3 separate regions of the Homo sapiens genome follow, and all the other regions are linked to region 1. Evidence: promoter capture Hi-C in human tissues and cell types (Jung and others, 2019). All regions are on one chromosome and are shown on one strand. The core of a region is centred on a gene start or on the middle of the fragment in contact, and the rest is flanking DNA. Distances in the headings are between cores, read along the strand shown.

Region 1 (3,817 bases), core at 746-3,245:
ACTTATAACAAATATTTTTGAGCAAAGCAAAATTAATTAATTTCTTTTTCGTCCTCCTGAACAATGAAATGATTTTAGAATCCTATTACTGAACATAAAAGCAGCACATTTTAGATTATTTCCTTATATCTGTCTTCCAGTTCATTAATATTCTTTTCAGCTTTGCCTAATTTGCCACTTAATCCATGCCTTGAGCTTTTAAAATTTTCAATTAACTTTTTTTTTTAATTCTAGAAGTTTTATTTGGTTCTTTAAAAAAAATCACCTAGCCTTTTTCTTTTTGACAATGTCTTATTCTTTTCTCATATTTCCAATTCCTTCTTTTAGAGCTTCAGTAGTTTTAAACATATTTATTTTCTAGTTTTTTGGCTGATATTTCAACTAAATGCAGTTCTTGGGGAGAGGTGTCTAATCCTTTTTGGTTTCTGCTGATTCTCATTTATAGTGGTTTGCTTCCTCATATGTTCAAATATCATTGTGAATTCTTTTTTGTTTTCACAGTGGCAGATAGTATATATTTGAATTCTAAACATATCTGAGGGCAGGCCCAATTTCACAAACTCAAAGGGACCTTGTAGAGTTCAAAGAGAGACATGATTGCTTCCTACCTCTTTGTGCTAGGGCAGAGTGGGATTGTACCTACTGAAATACAGTAGGTAACCCTGTGAGGGTCCTGGCTTTCATGAGGATCTCCCTTCTAACTCTCCACCTTTGGCCTAAGCTTTGCTTCCACATGGTCATCAACATTTGGTGGTTATAGAACTAATAACCCCTATCTCACTTCACTCCTATGCCAGAGGGGCCCTAGCATCAGCTCATGGGATTGTTGTTTTTGCTTTCCTCTCTATCTTTGGCTCCGGGATTTTCCCCTTACTTTAATGGGAGCTCATCTGTACCTTTTAAGTTTTTATTAATATCATGTGAACACAGACCTGTATATATTGTTAGAAGCAGAAATCTCTAAGTTTACTTTTAAAACATGATCCTTGCCTCGAAACCTTGTAGAATAATATAATGTCCACATAATACCAAGTTATGAAAAGAAACATACCTAAATAACTAAATAAGTATATTCCTTTTTTCCCCCAGCTTTTTTTCCCCATTCTAGGTTTACCCAGTTGTACTGTGTTGTTTGTCATAGGCCGGGTGAGGTGGCTCACGTCTGTAATCCTAGCAATTTGGGAGGCGAAGGCGGGTGGATCGCCTGAGGTCAGGAGTTCGAGACCAGCCTGGCTAACATGGTGAAACCCTGTCTCTACTAAAAATACAAAAATTAACTGGGTGTGGTGGCGGGTGCCTGTAATTCCAGCTACTTGGGAAGCTGAGGTAGGAGAATCGCTTGAACCCAGGATGCGGAGGTTGCAGTGAGCCGAGATCACACCATTGCACTCCAGCCTGGGCAACAAGAGCGAAATTCAGTCTCAAAAAAAAAAATTATCTATAAAAGTATAGGTGCAACTCCTCAAGTATTAAAGACAAGATAGCTCGGATTGGACTTGACTTTCAGAGCCATAACTATTCTTAATATGTTGGTTTATCTTGGAATCAGACCATTTTCAGTTTCAACCTGTAAAACAGTGTACAAAGGAAACATGGAAAGTTTTCTATATATAAAGGGTTGTGAAATAATAACAGCTCACAGAAAATGCTGAAATGATGATTTGCTTCAGTACCCTCTGAAATTTCTCCCCTACCACCCCTCCTTCATCCCCATTGCTATCAATTCAAATTACAACAGCTAATTCTCAGGAGAACAGTAGAAGCCCAGTTTCTCTCCTCTTTCCCCTCTGACCCTCCTCCAATTAATCTGACTGCAGCGTAAACCTTTGCGGTTTAATATTGTGCAACTTCCACATTTCCCTCGCTCTCCCACCCAGCCCCCTCCCCCACCAAATTCAGGGGAACTCCCGTTACCGCAGTGCCACCAGCATTACTCATTCATCCCCATTCAGGCTTTCCTCAGCATTTATTAAGGACTCTCTGCTCCAGCCTCTCACTCTCACTCTCCTCCGCTCAAACTCAGCTCACTTGAGAGTCTCCTCCCGCCAGCTGTGGAAAGAACTTTGCGTCTCTCCAGCAATGCATCTCCTTGCGATTCTGTTTTGTGCTCTCTGGTCTGCAGTGTTGGCCGAGAACTCGGATGATTATGATCTCATGTATGTGAATTTGGACAACGAAATAGACAATGGACTCCATCCCACTGAGGACCGTAAGTTCACTTTAACTGTTTCTCTGCTAACCCTGACTACATATCCACCTCTTGGTCTAAATAACACACATATACTTTGTGGCCAGTGAGACAAGTTAAAAATTTATAGCTTGTTATGCAAAAGTGAGAAGCACTTGAAGAAAGATGGAGGTTTCAAAGTTATTTCTGTAACGTACATAATGGGTTGAATCATATCAAATCGTCAATATTTGACTGTTTTGAGCTACATAACCGGCGATTTCATAGGGTACAACTTAATCTATACCTGAATGAATGATTTCTGTCGTTTCTGAGACATTTACATGCTGTTTTTCGGAGGTGTCCTTAAAGGGAAGGGGAATGCCAGGAACGGGCTGCAACTTGGCACCACCGAGGGAGGTCAGCTTTTACAAAGCACATCCAAGGCAGGCCTGGGCGGGCTGCTAACGTGTGTGTATCCCGTACTCTAGCCACGCCGTGCGCCTGCGGTCAGGAGCACTCGGAATGGGACAAGCTCTTCATCATGCTGGAGAACTCGCAGATGAGAGAGCGCATGCTGCTGCAAGCCACGGACGACGTCCTGCGGGGCGAGCTGCAGAGGCTGCGGGAGGAGCTGGGCCGGCTCGCGGAAAGCCTGGCGAGGCCGTGCGCGCCGGGGGCTCCCGCAGAGGCCAGGCTGACCAGTGCTCTGGACGAGCTGCTGCAGGCGACCCGCGACGCGGGCCGCAGGCTGGCGCGTATGGAGGGCGCGGAGGCGCAGCGCCCAGAGGAGGCGGGGCGCGCCCTGGCCGCGGTGCTAGAGGAGCTGCGGCAGACGCGAGCCGACCTGCACGCGGTGCAGGGCTGGGCTGCCCGGAGCTGGCTGCCGGCAGGTAAGGAGGCAAGCGGGGCCGGGACCTCCCACTGCGGCTTTGTTCCGGGAGCGCGCGTAACGGCAAGCCAAGCCAGGCAACCTTCTAGGGGAAGCTTTCATGGGAAGCGCGCGCGCGCGCGCGCACACACACACACACACACACACACACACACACACCCCTATTTCTGCATGCGCGGTCACAGAGCTCAGGCACACCATACAAGGCGGGAAAATTGGCTTTAAAAAAGTATTCCTCAGTCCTAAGGAGCCCTAAAGAGAGTTGTGGAGGTAACCATCACAGTCTTGAAATAGACGTCTAGGGCCCCTTACACCCGATCCGACTAAGCGCTGCAGGAGTCCACTGGCCCGTTATAACCGTGATCCCTCTTGCCGCCCAGCTTCCCTCCGTTAGGGATTTCCACGTCTTCTAATTTTATCCTGCCTCTGTCTTTAGAGGAGCTCTGGTTTCCCGCACTATTTCAGGGCCCAGGCTAACGTTTAGGGATGTTTTCCAGCCCCTCAGCCGGCCCCTCCTCTCCGCCCACCCATTCTCAGCAAGAAACTTGAGGCTAAAGCTAATCTCCCGAAGGGTCAGCGGAATTCTTCAGGGGTCCCCCAGCCCCCGGGGTTTGTGGAATTAGCGCGACAGGGGAGGTCGGAGGGTGTGCGGTTTGGGATTCAGCGTGGAACAGTCAGGTGTAGGAGCCAATCCGTGTAGGGGATCCCAGCTCCACCCCAGGGATTCAGAGAATTGGGGCCAAGCAGGAGAGAGACTG
Region 2 (3,817 bases), core at 514-3,013, 250 kb before region 1:
GAAACAACCATTTCTTATGTTCATGAATTTTGGGGAAATTCACATCAGACACGGAAGGAATAATCCCTGCTTCTTGTGGTGTCAGGTCTCATCTCTTAAGCCGGGCTGGCTTAAAGACTAGAATTGCTGATGGGAACACTCACACCTGGCTGCCTTATGTGATTTGGTTTCCTTACAGCTAGTGATCTCAGGGTAGTCAGACTTTTTACCAGGTGGTTCAGGGTTCCAAGCATGAGTGTTCTAGTGCACAAGGCTGGATTGCCAAGCTTCATTATCATGTCCACAGTGGTCTGTTGGTTGAAACAGTCACAAGCCTGCCCATAGTCAAGAGGTGTGGCCATAGACACTTCCTCCTCCACCTCTCCATGAAGAGTATAAAAAAAGTTAGGACCCTGTTTAAAAACTGCTACTTACTTTATCCAGCCCTCTCATAGTCATATTCAACTCTGAAGAATTTTTCTTTAGATATTTTCCCAAAGGGACTACATGTTCATAAACCCCCTACATGTGGGTGAAGGCCAATTAAACTGCCATGGGATGATTTTTCTTTCTCATGGGAAGCAGATAGAATTAACAGACTGTGGCTGCTGTTTTTAAACAAGGTATGCCAGTATCTGTATCCCTTCTGAGATGCGTTGTGTTTCTTCAGTGAGGGAGAACATGTAATTAATCCCTGTTGAAAGCCCTTTTATTTAGAAATCATGCTTGCTTTTACTCTTTATTATTTGGATATATATCTATGTCTGGAAATAGACTGAGAGGAAACTTGCCTGTTGATATCTTAATAAAAGTAATTAAAACATTCCCAGGGCCAGGACTAGGATGAGGTGAGTGAGGCACTTGCTTCAGCTGTAAAATTTAAGGCTACGCCAAAAAACTCAGTAATCCAAATAAATATTTTCATGTGATATTAAAGAAAGTTAAATCTAATGCCAAGCAATCTATAATCAAATATCAAAGTTTTAGATAAAGACAGTACATTATTTTCCAAGGGCTGCTGTAACAAAGTACCAAAAACTGGGTGGCTTAAAAGAACATACATTTCTTTTCTGTCAGTTCTGGAGGCCAGGGGCTCTCAGGAGGAAACCTCATGCCTCTCTGCTAGCTTCGGGTCATTGCCTGCAATCCCTGGTGTTTGTTGGCTTGTCTCCACTCATCTTCGCCTTCATCGTCATGAGTTCTTCCCTATGTGTCTCTGTGTCCTCTCCTTTTCTTTTGAGGACACCAGTCACTGGACTTAGGGCCCATTCTAATCCAATATGACCTCATTTTAAATAATTATATTTGCAAAGACCCTGTTTCCAAATAAGATCACATTCTGAGGCTCTGGGTGGACATGAATGTTTTGGAGGCACTATTGAACAATACAGACAGGATCAGTGTCACTGATTTTTTTTTTTTTTTGCCATAAGATCCAATATGGCTGAGCATGGTAACCTCCAATCTGCCTCAATGTCCAAAAACTTGCTCACACCTATTACAGGAGTAGATATTAAATGTGTTTTGGGCCAGGCACAGTGGCTCATGCCTGTAATTCCAGCACTTTGGGAGGCCGAAGCAGGTGGATCACCTGAGGTTGAGAGTTCGAGACCAGCCTGACCAACATGAAGAAACCCTGTCTCTACTAAAATTACAACAAAATTAGCCAGACGTGGTGGTGCATGCCTGTAATCCCAGCTACTTGGGAGGCTGAGGCAGGAGAATCTCTTGAACCCAGGAGGCTGAGGTTGCCTTGAGCTGAGATCACGCCATTGCGCTCCAGCCTGGACAACAAGAGCAAAACTCTGTCTCAAAAAAAAAAAATAATAAAATAAATGTATTTTGACTCAAAATAGACAATACATTATGAGATTTTTTTTAGTAGTTAGCATGGGCTGGCTACTGCCAGGTGAGCTGCTGTTCCATCACCTCTGGAACCAAAGACTGAGAAGTTTCACCCACTCATCTATTTCAGCTTCCACATGCCTATATGATGACTTCTAAATCTGTCTCTCCTGCCTCACTACTGTATGAATTCTAGATTCCTTTTTCCAACGGCTCCTGGACAGCCCAACTTGTTAGCCTAAAGGCATCTCAAATGTAACTTGTATTTCAATGAAGCATTTATGTCTTCTTGTCCTCTTCCCCATCTCCTTCATTGGCATATTCATCCTCCCCATCCCCTAAAACAAACCTTGAGAGTCTCTCTACTCTGGTCTCTCCCTCTTTTCCAGCATCTTATCTGGTTCCACCTCAGAGACAATTCTGGATCACCTTCCTCTGCCATGATTCTCAACCTTTTATCAGCAGGTATCATCTTGGGTATGGAGATGTTCCTATAGAATATAATGTTTATCGTAATCTGCTTGGAAAATAAGAGTTGTGACTGTGTAACAGGTTTAGATACTAAATATGTTTTGCCTCAGAAAATACAGTGAATTATACACAATTTTGTTAGCATGACTTTGACATTGTATATGGTTATATATATAAAATAGACATATACTCTATATTATATATATAAACTATATATTTTATATATTCATAAACCCTATATATTTATACACACACACACACACACACACATATATATATAAAGAGAGTGAGAGAGAGCAAGCATGAGCCTGGGCTTTCATGATTCTGCCCTCAGCCTCAGAAAGGCATTATGGGCATGCACTACCACCCTCATACTGGATGTTATGTTTTGATGCTTTAGTATTGCTAAACCTGGTCATCCAAAGCAAATTCCTTCTAGTCTTCTTTTTGCTGTAATAGAAACTCTGCTCGTCCTGAGGATGCTGCTCCCTTGTGGCCCTCTCTAGTGTAGCTGTTCACAGGCCTCCTACCCCTCGCTCTGAAGCAAAGTGGAAGTCCTCCCTTCTCCTTCTGGTCACTTCTGGACCATTTTTCCCCCCTCCACCCTACCTGCCCCAGTTTTTAGTCTCACGTTAGCAGATTGGCATGCTCTGTTCATGAACCTCCTGAGTTCTTCTCCCTGGTTTTTTGAAGATTTTTACCTTCAGGTTCACTGCCATTCTCTGAAATGACACCTGATTTCAGCATCCAAGTAGATGATCTTCCAGGAGCCACGTTTCATGGTTTCTTGACTTCTCCTTTTCCAACAATTTTGTTCTCTCTCTGTAGCAGCCACTCTACTCCATGGACCTACTTTAAACTGTGTTATCTCACATCCAAGCCATCATCTCAGTCTTTCTTTACCACTTCTAATCTTTGCAGCTCACTCTTCCTAGTTCTTTTCACCCCACATTATATTCTCACTATTCTCTTTACCTGGTTTAAATTCCATGATCAGTCATTATAATCACTCCCTTGCATAATCTCAGCACCCAACTAAACCCACCCAGCATAATATAATTGCAGAAAGACACACAACCATGCTTCCTGGGCTCACTCTAAATGACCCCAACCTTGAGTGGACTCTTAATTCTGTGTGGCAACCACATATTTCCCTGGAACATTCACCTTCTCCTAGATAACCCTTCTGATAATAAACACACTCTCCTGGATACCTAGTTTTCATTCCTTCCCTTCTTTCTTCTGACCTCTCATACTTCTCCCATCATCACTCTGTCAGTTTCCTTAAGAAAACAGAAGTGATCTGAATAGACCTCCATGGCCCTCACCAGCTGTCCACTCACCTTCTGCACCTGGGTCTACATACTCTGCCTTCCCTGATGTTTCTGTGGGTAGACTGTCCATGATCCTAGCTAAGGGCAACCCTTTCATTTGTGCCCAATGGCTCTTCTTCTTTCATTTATTCAAGGTAATTACAGCAGCAGTTGTACCCTCCTTCTGTATTATCAATTAATATCAATTG
Region 3 (3,817 bases), core at 586-3,085, 130 kb before region 1:
CCGGCTAATTTTTTGTATTTTTAGTAGAGACGGGGTTTCACCGTTTTTAGCCGGGATGGTCTCGATCTCCTGACCTCGTGATCCGCCCGCCTCGGCCTCCCAAAGTGCTGGGATTACAGGCGTGAGCCACCGCGCCCGGCCTCTATCTGTCTTAAAAATATTCTTTTACCTGGATTCAGGACTAGACCTACAAAAAATATTCTTTTATATGGTTGTATAATAATTTCATTCTCCTATCTTTAGACATTTAGGCTATTTATAAATCCCTCTGCAATACTTTTTGTGTTTGTTTATCTTAAGTTTTGTACATGTTTCAGATTACTTCTTTAGAACAGATTCTTAGAAGTGGAATCACTGTGTGAAAGGATATGAATATTTTTAAGACTCTTGAACTGCATTGCTAAATTGCTTTTTAGAAATGTTGAAATAATTTACACTTCAACTTAGAAACGTGTGAGTGCCTTAACTCTTGCTCAAGCCAGCACTGATTATTGTATTTTAAAAAATGTGTTAAAAAGGGTAACTTATTTTAACTTTGACTACTTTGCCTACTAATAAGGCTGAATATCTTTTACGGACTCAGTCTCCTAAGTATTTGCTCATGTTCTTCGTTCATTGATTATTGATTTTCATGAACTTATAGTAGTAGCTTAAGGATATTAAACTTTGTTTTTCATGCTTGTTACAAATATTTTCATTTAAAATTATTGTGCATAAAAGGTTTTGCTCTTTACAGACTTTATATTTTATGTAGTCAAACCTACCAATTCTTTACTCTTTGACATTAGTTACAGGTTAAATTAAATTTAAAAAACAAAGACAGAAAAGCATCTACAAAAGACACTTTAACAAATACCCATGTACCTGCCAGCCAGACTTAACAAATGCTAATATTTTGCTTCTGGTTATTTAACAATAAAATTACAGATGAAATTGAGATCTCCTTAATTCCCTTCCCCGGTAACATTTTCCTCCTTCCTTTCCTCACTTTCTCCTTACCCAAAGGCAACCTCATCATGAATTTTGTATAATTCTAAATATAGTGTATTTTTATCATAAGTATATGTATGTATAAATAATGCATAACACTGCTTGGTGTGTTTTAAAAATTTATACAATAACATTTATGCTATCATAGTATTCATATCATAGTTTTGCAACTTGCTTATTAAAACTCAATATCATATTTTCAAGATTTATCCCATGCTATTACATATAGGTCTAATTAATTCACTTTACCTGCCTGTATAACATGACTATACCACAACGTTTTTTTTCCACATTCCTCTATCAAGGGACATTTGGGTTGCTCCTGATTTTTTGCTGCAAAAAATGCTTCAGTTAGTATTTCTGTACATGTTTTCTGATGCACATATGTAAGAGTTCATCTAGAAATAGAACTGCAGAAAAATAGGGCACATGAAATTATAATATAACCACTGATTATATTATAAAGAGCAGATTGCTCTTTAAGAAGTCTGAAAATGAAAATTTGTGGGTTTTGGTTACATGGATGAATGAAGTCTGAGATTTTAGTGCACCCTTCATCTAAATAATGTACACTGTACCCAATATGTAGTTTTTTAGCTTCCAAGTCTCCAATATCCATTATACCACTCTGTACGCCTTTACATACTCATAGCTTAGCTCCCACTTACAAGTGAGAAAATACAGTATTTGGTTTTTTATTTCTGACTTACTTCACTTAGAATAATGGCCTCCTGCTCCAGCCAAGTTGCTGCAAAAGACATTATTTTGTTCTTTTTAATAGCTGAGTAGTATTAGCACATTTTATATACTGTAATACAAAAACCTTCTTGTATTTAAGCATTTTTATGATCAGCTTTAAATGGAATTAAGACTTCAGAAATAAAGTTACTCACCCATCTTAACAGTAATCTAGCTGTCATTTTTGAGTCTAATTAATGACTATATATATATATATGTTCTTAAGTGTTCTTTTTTCTAAACAGGTATACCTATTTTCCTTCCATCAAGAGTGTGTGAACATTCCCACTTTTTCACATCTTTGCCAAGACTTGTATTGTCACATTTTTCTTATCCTGGAGCTATAAAGATAACTTTCGATATTTTCTTCTAATTGTTATAAGATTTCATTGATTACATTTAAGCCTTTAATTTATGTGGAGTTAATTGATCTATATGGTGTCTGTGAAGGATCTACTTTTATCTTTTCAGCTTGGAAAAGTTACATGTCCTTACATTATTTAAAACATATTTTACTTTCTCTTCGCTGATTTGTAATCCCCCTTCTATCACCTACCAAGCTTTCATATATGATTGGGACTGTTTCTGGGCTCTTTATTATTTACCATTAATTTATCCCTGTGGAAATAATCACATGAGTTTTCTCTTTCTGTACCATAAAAATTTCCTCCCCCACAGTCTTTCTTAGGATTTTGTTTATTCTAAATTTAGGACCAGTTTGTCAAACTCCATGAGAAAAGTCTGTTGTCATTAGGATTGGTTATGAAATTGTAATTACATTTTAATTTGGGAGAAAATTTTCATTTATATGATAATGGTTGTTCTTGACCATGAAAAGATCATATCTTTTCATTAATTCAGGTCTTTAAAATTTTTTTCATTAATATTAAAAAATTTTTTATCATTAAAGAGTTTCACAGCTTTTCTTATATTTATTCCTAGGTCCTTTATAGTCTTTACTGCTATTATAGATGGCATGCTTTTCTACATTTTCTATTTAGTTATTACTCACGTATAGATTTGTTATTGATTTTATATGTTGATCTTATATCAAATAACTTTATGGATCTTTTATATAAGTTCTAAAGGTTAGATTCTTTTGAACTTTCCACACAAATAATCTTATTGTCTATAAATAATTTCTCTTTCCCTCATCCTCCCTCTCATCTCTATCTCTTTCTCTTTCTGGTTTATTCTTTTAATCCTTATACTTAACTGCTTTTGTCTCCCTGCATTGGGTAGGATCACTGTAAAATGCTAAATTTTGAAGGTGATGACAGGTATCCTTGTTTAATTTCTAATTATAGCAAACACCTTTACATTTTTTCTGTATGTACAAAATTAGCTCTAGGGTTTTGATATCATTCTCTTTTATGTAGGCTTTTTAAAAAGGATTCGTTTCATACGTAGCTAAACAATTGTATATATACATTAACTGATTATATGTATATATTTGAGTTGGTTTCTGGACTAGTCTGTTCCATTTATCTGCATTAATTCTTTCCATAAAAGTGGAGTAATTTAATAATTGTAGGTTTTATAGTGTGCTTAAATGTTTTGGAATGTCCTTTTTTTTGCCCCTCTCAAAAATTTTCAAACTAGTCTCACCTATTTATCCTTCTGGCTGTATTTTACCATCACTTCATAAGAGATAAAAAATAATTCTCTTAGAATTTAAATTGGAACTCAGTTAAAGTGCTAATTAACTTAGGAAGTATTAACATTTTTGTCATATTTGCTATTTCCAATCAGGAACGTGGTAATATCACTGTTCATTCAAGTGTATTTCTCTCCATTGCTCTGTGACTTTGAGAAAATTAATCTTTCTTCTACTTAGTTTACTCATTTGTAAGATGATAATAATAATGCTGTCTATCTCATAGTGTTGTCATTGGGATTAAGTGAACTAATTGATGTTAAATGAACAGGACAATTAGTGGCACATTCTAAATGACCAGTAAAGTTAATTATTATTATTAATTCTAATAGTGTTCCTTGTATTTTCATATTAACTAAAAGTAATGTTGAATTTATCTTCTTATTTCAAATAGTATACTCCTTATTTCTGTCTTGTGTTCTATTTGTTGTT

What was found. The method cuts DNA at HindIII sites, captures the fragments that hold promoters and counts their contacts. A contact is called where the count stands out against the background at its distance.
Region 2: a fragment that was not itself captured here is called in contact with the fragment with the promoter of PTX3 in region 1 in 2 of the 25 tissues and cell types used here (spleen and thymus).
Region 3: a contact is called between a fragment that was not itself captured here and the fragment with the promoter of PTX3 in region 1, in 1 of the 25 tissues and cell types used here (IMR-90 fibroblasts).

The regions. Positions count from the first base shown.
Region 1 is chr3:157,434,855-157,438,671 of GRCh38, forward strand. It overlaps PTX3 (pentraxin 3), which reads left to right and starts at 1,996. Exons shown (of 3, transcript NM_002852.4): 1 at 1,996-2,209; 2 at 2,659-3,060. The coding sequence starts at 2,080. All of the region lies in intron 4 of VEPH1 (ventricular zone expressed PH domain containing 1), which reads right to left. The HindIII fragment of the contact is 4,814 bases long and covers 46-3,817 here.
Region 2 is chr3:157,180,294-157,184,110 of GRCh38, forward strand. The region is part of intron 2 of LOC101928236 (a long non-coding RNA gene); the gene reads left to right. Among named protein-coding and RNA genes, the nearest start is that of CCNL1, 22 kb to the left of the region's middle. The HindIII fragment of the contact is 6,456 bases long and covers 1-3,817 here.
Region 3 is chr3:157,305,269-157,309,085 of GRCh38, forward strand. The region is part of intron 11 of VEPH1 (ventricular zone expressed PH domain containing 1); the gene reads right to left. All of the region lies in intron 5 of LOC101928236 (a long non-coding RNA gene), which reads left to right. Among named protein-coding and RNA genes, the nearest start is that of PTX3, 130 kb to the right of the region's middle. The HindIII fragment of the contact is 8,313 bases long and covers 1-3,817 here.